Regions from separate parts of the Homo sapiens genome. Here region 1 is linked to region 2. Evidence: promoter capture Hi-C in human tissues and cell types (Jung and others, 2019). All regions are on one chromosome and are shown on one strand. The core of a region is centred on a gene start or on the middle of the fragment in contact, and the rest is flanking DNA. Distances in the headings are between cores, read along the strand shown.

Evidence for each region. The method cuts DNA at HindIII sites, captures the fragments that hold promoters and counts their contacts. A contact is called where the count stands out against the background at its distance.
Region 1: a contact is called between a fragment that was not itself captured here and the fragment with the promoter of MIS18BP1 in region 2, in 1 of the 25 tissues and cell types used here (lymphoblastoid cells).

What each region holds. Positions count from the first base shown.
Region 1 is chr14:43,874,951-43,879,646 of GRCh38, forward strand. No RefSeq gene overlaps it. Among named protein-coding and RNA genes, the nearest start is that of LINC02307, 510 kb to the right of the region's middle. The HindIII fragment of the contact is 4,079 bases long and covers 695-4,696 here.
Region 2 is chr14:45,250,007-45,254,618 of GRCh38, forward strand. MIS18BP1 (MIS18 binding protein 1) reads right to left here and starts at 3,196. Exons shown (of 17, transcript NM_018353.5): 1 at 3,029-3,196. LOC107984674 (a long non-coding RNA gene) reads left to right here and starts at 3,285. Exons shown (of 4, transcript XR_001750746.2): 1 at 3,285-3,635. RefSeq lists enhancers at 3,165-3,224, 3,325-3,504, 3,414-4,363, 3,525-3,714, 3,785-3,844 and 1 more. The HindIII fragment of the contact is 14,218 bases long and covers 1-4,612 here.

The DNA.
Region 1 (4,696 bases), core at 1,484-3,983, 1.4 Mb before region 2:
GTTGCACATAAGAGTTTGACATTTCCCTTAAGGATGTCACTGATTTTAGAGAGTTGTGGCATGCTCATTTTTGTGTTTTAAAAATACAACAAGAAGAATGGAATGGAGAAGGGAAACACTGGAAGCAGCAAGATCAGAGGCTACTGTAATATCTAGATGAGAATCAACAGGGGCATGAGCACGGCATTTGGATAAGTGAAACACATAATTTGGTGACTTTGCAGATCTGACTGGAACCTGCCCAAATCCTCTGAGATCTCTTTCATTGATTTAATATCCCCATCTCCTAACTTTTGCTTGTATTGCTGTTAACGGCTCCCACCTGGAAACTCCTCCAGAGTACTGTCTTTGTATGAATGGATCAACCCTGCGGTTTATATCACCCCACAATCTGAGGTAGGAGATCATCCGGACTTGTTTTCCAAGCACTCATCGTGACACTGGTCATGACCCTACTAATCAGATTAGAATCTGGTCAAAACAGGGTGCAGTAAAGAAGCCAGTCAAAATCAGTCGATGGCAATAAAAACAATCTCTAGTTGCCTTCACTGCCCATTAACATAAAGCCACTCCCACTGGTGCCATGACAAATGCACCATGGCAATGCATGATGACAATAGCCCAAAAATTACCTTATAAAAGTTCCCCACCTTTTTTTTCAGAAAGTTCTAAGTAATCTGCCTCTTAATTAAAAGTGGGTATAAAAACAGCTGCCAACAGCCCATACACTGCTACTCTGGGCATACTGACTAAGGGTTAGTCCTGCTCCACCAAAAGTAGTACCTCTGCTGCTGCTGTACACTTCAATAAAAGTTGCTAATACCTTCAGCTCACCCTTGAATTCTTTCGTGGGCAAAGCCAAGCACCCTGTCAGGCTAAGCCCCAATTTGGATGCTTGCCTGCCCCTATCAAATTTACTAACATGAATAGCCAATGTGATGTTATTTGGTTGGGTGTGGTGAGAAAACTGGCACAAAAGCCTATCTCTCTAGCCTCGGCAGGACTAATTCTGTGGTGCACATTATATTTCCTTCTGTGTCAACTAAGACTAGACTTCAGCTAAAACTATATTGTTGTTTGGGTTTACCTGTTATGGACTTAAGTGTGCATCTACCAAATCTCCAGGTTGAAATCCTAACCCCCAAGGTATTTGGAGATGTGGTCTTTAGGGAGGTAACTAAATTAAATGTGGTCATAAGGGTGAATGCTAATCTAACAAGACTTGTATCCTTATAAGAAGAAGAAGAGATGCCAGAGATCTGTCCCTCTGCAAGCATATGGAGGAAAAGATGGGATAATAAACCAAGAAGTGAGCTGTCTGCAAGTCAAGAAGAAAGCCCTCACCAGGAATGGAATTGTTCAGTACTTTGGTCGTGGATGTTTAGCTTCCATATCTGTGAGAAGGCAAATATCTGTTGTTTAAGCCACTCAGTCTGTGGTATTTTGTTATGACAGTTTGAGCAGACTAATAAATCCCCTTCTTTATCTATTATTCTCTTTCTTATAAGCTTCTCTTGCTAGAATACCCTTAATGCATCACTTACATAAGAATACCCATCTTAGGTTCTGGGTCTAGAAGTACTGAATTTAAAGAGTGATTTATTGGAATATTAGATTAAAGAAAAAAGTGTGGGGATATCTCCAGAATTGGGGCTGTGATACTGAAAGCAGATAATAGAGAAAACATGGGATTTGATTCTTTCTGTCACTAACTAAGGGTGGTAATTTATTTGTCAGATCATCTACTTTAATGAGACTGAATTTCTCCATTTTTAAATTGGATTACTATGACTTTAAACCAGTACACGTTCTGCTTCCTCCACAAAATTATACACATCTTAAGTTTATACATGGCATTCAACCTATTTTTTTGTTGAAATTCTTCTTCTTTTGAAGGTTGTGACTGATCAGTTGTGTTTTTCACTTATTAATCTCATAAAAAACAGTACTTAGAGCCCAAAGGAATATCTCATACCTTATGTATGGCTCAATGTCCCTTTTACAAATGGAGTAAAAAAAACCTAGAATATTTATTACATTACCTATATAGATATATCTCTGTAGCTATTCTAATTCTTTCAATTAACGACAGTCATTTGGAGAAAAAGTAGCTGTCTTAATCAACTATGACATGCAAGATATACAGTAGTCCTCCCTTACCTGAAGCTTTTTTTCTGCCATTTTAGTTACCTATGGTAGAGTAAAATAAAATATTAGAGAGAGACCACATTCACATAACTTCTATTTCACTACGTTGTTATAATTATTCTATTTTGTTATTATTGTCATTAGTCTCTTACTGTGACTAATTTATAAATTAAGCTTTATAATAGGTATGTATGTATGTATAAGGAAAAAAACATAGTATACACTATATAGGGTTTGGTACAATCTGTAGTTTTAGGCATCCACCAGAGGTCTTAAAACATATCCTTTACAGATAAAGGGGAATTACTGTAGTTGTTAAACAAAACAAAACAAACAAAAAACCTTGACCATAGTTAAAGTTACACAGTTAATTATTGATTCAATTCAAACATTTAACATGTTAGCTTTTCTCTTCTAATTATGGCAGGTTCTGTGTCTGCGAAGAGCTTAGAATACACAGCCATGGCAATCAAAGTAATCTGATCTTGGCAATGCTTAGAAGAGTCTGGAAATAAGCTTACAAAGATGTGAAAAAGTCATTTTGGCATAATACAGGCAGGAAGCACTGTGATGGATAACGAAAATGAGAGTAGACTGATGTGAAACCTTTTATTGAGAATTGACGTGTGCTGGCTGTATTCATGAGCAGAACATGAGTTGCTTGAAAGTCTTCAGAATTTGGCAAGCTTATGCAGAGGGGTAAACATGAAATTTTAATTAGGAGGACACTACAGCTTGGAATGTGAAAATGCTAATGATGAGATTGTTCAGTAATAGTTATGAAACTATTCCAAAATGCAGACATTTGTTTGAGAGTTACATTATAATTCATAAAATGTGCAGGCAAAATAAGAAATGAAGGAATCCTGCAAGACTTTCTTTTTATTTTTTGGCACACTCTGGGCATTGTAATCTTAACTTGGTGAGAGGTTTATAGATATTCAGTTCCAACTTCTGTTGTTTTGGATGGAGAAAAATACAGCAAGGGATTTATTATGATAAAGCCATAATTTGATTTAAATAAATCAAGTTTCTACAATGAGAATATATAATTAACATATTTATATATGTAAAACACTAATGGGTTCATGTCTGATTCCAATTCTAAGTAAGGGATTTGTAATAATCCTGAGCTACAGAGGTGGTGCAGGTAAGGTGGAGATTAGCTACTGCAAATTCAACCTGAATTATCTCTTGATTTTCCCAGGACCTTTTAGGGCTGAGATGGCTGGCTGGGCTAGTGCTTGTTGTAGTACATTAACTGACCTTTATTAGGAAGACTATCTTTGATTAGGCACTTGCTCAAAGTGCACTGTGGAGTTACATTTCTTTTCTTGTTGATGACAGCCAAGAAATGACTACTTCAAATTGCAGCTTTAATCTGAGAGCATTGTTTCTGCTCATTTTTCACTAAAAATCTCCCATTTTCTTCTTATATGGCTCGCTTTGCACCCCTTCAGTGTCAAAGAGAGAGTGCTGAAAGCTCTTGTGATGAGAACTTCTTACTTGAGCATCTGATTGGCGAGTGAACCCACATTTGGCCATTACTTAAAATATTATTTTTAATATCATTAAATATTCTCCTACAAGGGTTGCTATGGAGTGGTTCAGAAATTTAACTAGTTGATTCATGACCAAGATTGTGAGGGTTACATATACAAGCATATTTATCATGGTAAGAACCAGCAAAAAGACCACGAATGGAGCCAAAGTATTTTTCATTAATCAGTATTTGTAAAATGCAGTAGTCATTTTGTGATATACACAATGTAAGACAAAATTTTGCATGTCACTTTCTAGAAGGTCAATACATTGTTGGCAGTTGAAGTTGTAACAAAAAAATAGACATTTAGTAAAGCATGAATTTTGATGCCTTTCTGAAAGGAAATTAACAAGTTATATTCTTATATTTATGTGTGTAGACTAGCTACGTCTTTAAGGAAAACCTCTTCCCCTTGTATGCACTTGTACCTTGTTATAAGAAGTTTTAGAGTTATTTGTAACGCCTTTACAAATTAAGCAAGTGGCTCTTCTCAAATGCCCTTTCGCAAAAGAAAAAAATGAATGAATAGAAGCTAAGTTTCTTTCAAGTGCATGATAAAGATAACTGTTATTTGTTTAACAAGAATTTTTTTAAATGAATATTTTGTAAAGAAAAATCACCAGTGAATTTTTGAATAGTAAAGTATGAGGTCCCCTTGAACCTTTTCCCTGCCAAAATTTTGAAAAATCTACATCTTGTAGAAATAAAGAGAATACATTAAAATTTACATCTATAACTATATTGGCTTAGAAATTGACAATAACTTCAAACAATCACTTGGTTCAAACAGTGTTGCTGAGGATAATATGGCTTTTGGGATCTTCAGTCATTTTAGGCTTATTCTTTAAATTTTTTTTTTAATTATGTTAACTATAGAAAATAATTGATGACAAGAGGACACTCATAATCAGAAAAACGTAATAGAACACTGGACAGAGAATCACAAAGCAGGAGTTCTTCCCTAAATTAGCCACTTATTTGGATGACATTAACCTCATTAAACAT
Region 2 (4,612 bases), core at 1,946-4,445:
AGCAGCACTGAAAACAGAACCAACCTGTAATGGACATGCAGAACTGTCTTCATTTAAAGTCAGATAATTGTGGTCACGTTGAAAGGCTCCAAGAACCAAAACAGAGCTTTCTGTTTCCTAATGTCCCTGCCCCTAATTCAGGCAAGTAGTAGGATAAAGGTGATTAGCCAAGATTCTGAAAAAATCCTCAAATTCCACTTCCCCTCCCAAAGAAACAGAAAGTTGCTCTAGGAGACCTTTTTCCCACCATGTGATAAACAGCAACTCAATATAAGCCAAGAAAAAAATCGTCTACAATTTCCTCTGACCACAGAGGCTCTGCAGAATAGATAAACAAGAAAAACCACTGGGTCTAGATAATCCAGGACACATCTGAAGCTCCATTTCCTTCCTAGTCAAAACAGCTAAACAAAGAAATCAGCCTCTGATGAAACACAGACATTAGTGGAGATTTAGTAACTAGCAACCCGCAAGTGGAGGAAAGAACGCCTGTCCTGAAGCCAAGCACATTTGTTGACCTAACAGATGGAGGTCACTAACAAGAAATTGTTAGTTCCTCTCAGACTGGAGAAAGTATGTTTCCGTTTTCATTAACTGCTTAAAGTTGTTTGGAAAAATCTAATCCTTAAAACTTATTCTAAAAACTGACAAATGTTGATGTACTAGGGAAAAAAAATTGTTTTCAACATAAAGACATGGGAATGGGAAAACCATTGGATGAAAGGGCTGGCCAGGCCGCGTGCGGTGGCTCACGCCTGTAATCCCAGCACTTTGGGAGGCCAAGTGATCACGAGGCGAATGACGGCGAATCACGAGGTCAGGAGATGGAGACCATCCTGTCTAACACGGTGAAAACCGGTCTCTACTAAAAATACAAAAAATTAGCCGGGCGTGGTGACACGCGCCTGTATTCCCAGCTACTTGGGAGGCTGAGGCAGGAGAATGGAGTGAACCCGGGAGGCGGAGCTTGCAGTGAGCCGACATCGCGCCACTGCACTCCAGCATGGGCGAGACATCAAGACTCTGCCTCAAAAAAAAAAAAAAAAAAAAAGGGCTGGCCATAAGCATTTATAGTACAGTCATGCACTGCATAATGACATCAAACCACATACACAGTGGTCCCATAAGATTATTTTGGTGTACCTTTTTTTTAAACTTATTTTTACTGTACCTTTTCTATATTTTGGTATGTTTAGATACACAAATACTTATCATTGTGTTACAACTGCCAACAGTATTCAGTAAAGTAACATGCTGTACAGGTTTGAAGCCCAGAATAGGTTATAATATATAGCCTGGGTTTTTATAAGTACACTCTATGATATTGGCACAATGACAAAAATTACCTGAGAATGTATTTCTCAGAACGTATCCCAGTCAGTTACAAGTGACATATATAAATACAGAACTGAAGCTAAACAATTATGTATATGATCCTGAATGTAACTACTCCTCCTCCTCCTCCCAAAAAACATGGAAAGTTCTTGTAAGAATTTACTGTAGTGGTAGTAGTAATAACTATTACTATGGAATGGGTCAAAAATCCCAGAGCACACTAACCAAAACTGGGACATAGAATTAGGGGGAAAATAGAATTTTAAGTTAACAGGCAAATGATACACTTGAAAAAAATACTCAGCACATATGACAAAGGGCTAATTTAAATAACATTCAAAGAGACCTAATAAATCAACTTTAAAAAATATACAAAACAGAAAATGGTCATGGGACATGAAAGGTGATTAATAGAATACAAAAGGCCAATAAACGAGTTGTGACACCTGATTTTACTAATAAATGGAGATGCAAACTAAAACAGTGAGATTTCTTTTTCATATCACATTGGTAAATATTAATTTCAAAATGCAAGTATGCATACTATTGACACGGAAATTCCACTTCTAACTTGTTTTTTCCTATAGAAACATCTGCGTAAGAATGCAAATATATATGTACCATAATTGCCGATATTTACTGAATATTTACATGCCAGCCACTATATAATCTAACAGCAACTCTAAAGAGTTAAGTACTGTTATTACTCCCAATTTGAAAAAAGAGAAATTAAGGTATAAGGTGGTTAAGTAAGCTGCCCAAGGTCACTTGACAATAAGTGAGAAAGAGGAACCGATTCTACCCGACTCCATAGCTTCAGTTATTTACCAACAGGCAACAGTCTACACACCCACTACACAGGGAAGTTCACTGCAGCATAAAATGAAATGAAACAACCCAGATGTCTACCAATAAAGGACAAAATAAATCCCGCCACATCCATACAATTTACTCTATGTATTCAATAAAAAGATATATATGTACTTATATGGAAAAGTATCCAAGAAACATTAAATTGAAAAAGAAAGTAACAACATAGAATTGCATTTGTTTAAAAAAATTTTTAAGTAAATAAATAAAACACATACAGGCATAGAGAAAAACTCTGGAAGCGGTGAACCAAATTGTAAACAGTGTTTATCTTTGAAGGCCAGGATGAAGTGGCCTACCATTTTCTTGAACTCCTGAGCTCAAAAGATCCACCCGCCTCGGCCTCCCAAAGTGTGGGATCACAGGCGTGTGCCACCGCGCCCGACCATTTTCTAAATAATTTTATTAACATCTAAAGATGTTTGCAACAAGCATGCAATTTAACCAGAAGAAAACATAAGCTGAATGATCAACTGCTTCTATAGCCCTGTGGGTCCTGGGGTCCCAAGGGGAAGAGTTGGGTACTGAGGAATACAATTTTCCCACTTGGTATTCTAAAAAAAAAAAAAAAAAATTTATTTTAGAACAAAGACCTAGAACGCTCACCATCGAAATAAATTTGAGCAATCGTGTTCTACTCTCTTAAGTACAGTAGACACGCAACAAGTAAACATCGAGTGCGAAGTATAAAATCCGTACCAAAGCCAGAAATCTACAAAAAAAATAAATAAAACCGCGTGAGCCGAGATGCTTAAAGGGCAGACGCCCACCATCTGCGGGGACCCGCGGTAGGAGGTTAGCGGAGGGCGCGGGGAGGACGTACCTTGGATGAAGAGCCTGGCAGGGAGAGACTGCCGCAGTTCCGGCTCGGCTCCGCGCGGAGAGAGGGCCGCACGCCGCCGGGCTCGCGCCTCAGGCCCACGGTGTATCCTGCCCGCGGCGGCCAGGCGCCAAGCGACGCTTACCTCCTCCGCGACGTTCTCTAACACACAAAACACTTCCGCAATTCAAATTTGAAGAGCCCGCCCTCCAGCCAGCCCGGGATTGGCACGCTCGGGAATTGCGCCACCGTGCGTCTCACAGGGACGCAAGAAAACTGCAGGCGGCCTCTGCACTCCGTGGACGGCAGTGTGTCCACAAAAAGTAGGCGACCCTAAGCTGTCACAGGCAGGGGGCGAGCTCCTCTAGTTGTCTTCAAAGTTCGTTTCGTCTTCGTAGGGCACGCGCCCACCCTGAATCCCGCCTTTCCTCTCGTGAAGCTCTGCCGGGACAAGGCTGACGTGGGACGACGTGGGACGCCGTGGGCCGCGAGCACGCCCCGGCACTACTGCGGCTAAGTTTGGCCTTTCCTGGTTGCCGTCCTCCCCTACAGGCTGTGCGCCGTAGCGGCTGTTATCCTTCTTTTCCGTCTCAGGAAAACAGCGTGCTTGGTGGGTTTGAGAGAACTTCTGTTTTTCTGTCCTCCATGTTTGAGGCGGAGAAAGAACATTTTGTTCTTGAGGTGATGATGGATTGAATGTAAAGTTACGCACAAAGTGGGATGTTTAGTTGGAACTGTTCCCTCAGGAAATACGATTTTTTGGGCGTGGGGGACAGGGTTTCGCTCTGTCGCCTAGGCCTGAGTGCAGTGGCGCAATAACGGCTCACTGCAGTCTGGAACTCCAAGGGATCTTCCCACCTCAGCCTCCGAGTAGCTGGAACTACAGGCGCGCGCGACCATGCTTGGCTTATTTTTATTTTGTAGAGAGGAGGTCTCACCATGTTGCCCAGCCTAGTCTGGAACTCCTGGGTTCAAGCGATCCTCCATCTCGGCCTCCCAAAGTGCCAGGATTACAGGCAACCGCACCGAGCCAGGAAGTGATTAATTTTTTTTTAAGTCACTTCACATTCCAGAAACATTAATCTCGACAACTCTAGGTTGCTGTAAGCAGCTTGTGACGGTGGCCCCCAGACTGCGTCCCGCTTTAGACTGCACCCAGTGAATCTCCACTCTAACCACCGCGGAGTGACCGGGTGTATTCTTCGCCTTGTATAGGGCACATTGGTTCAGTCTTGAAAGTAGAGAAGGGGAAGCCAGGGTAGTAAGGTGTGTTCTCAGCCCTGAACCCTGTCCAACTCCAGTCCTGCATGAAGTCTGTCCTCTTCCCCCCATCCGCATTTGTGACAACAGAGCTTCTTTTTATTTTATACTTCCATCTAAGAAAATTAGTCAACTTCTAGTCACATACCACATTTCCCCATTAAGAGGCTTTACTGAAAAGGTGGTAATTTTTTTTTAAAGTGACTTTTGCAGTCCCTTCTAAATCCTGCATGTACTAAATTTTGTACACACTGAATAATCAAAATCCAAAATATAAATTTAAAACATCCACGTGAATGCAAATAAGGAAAAACAGTTGGAGGTAGG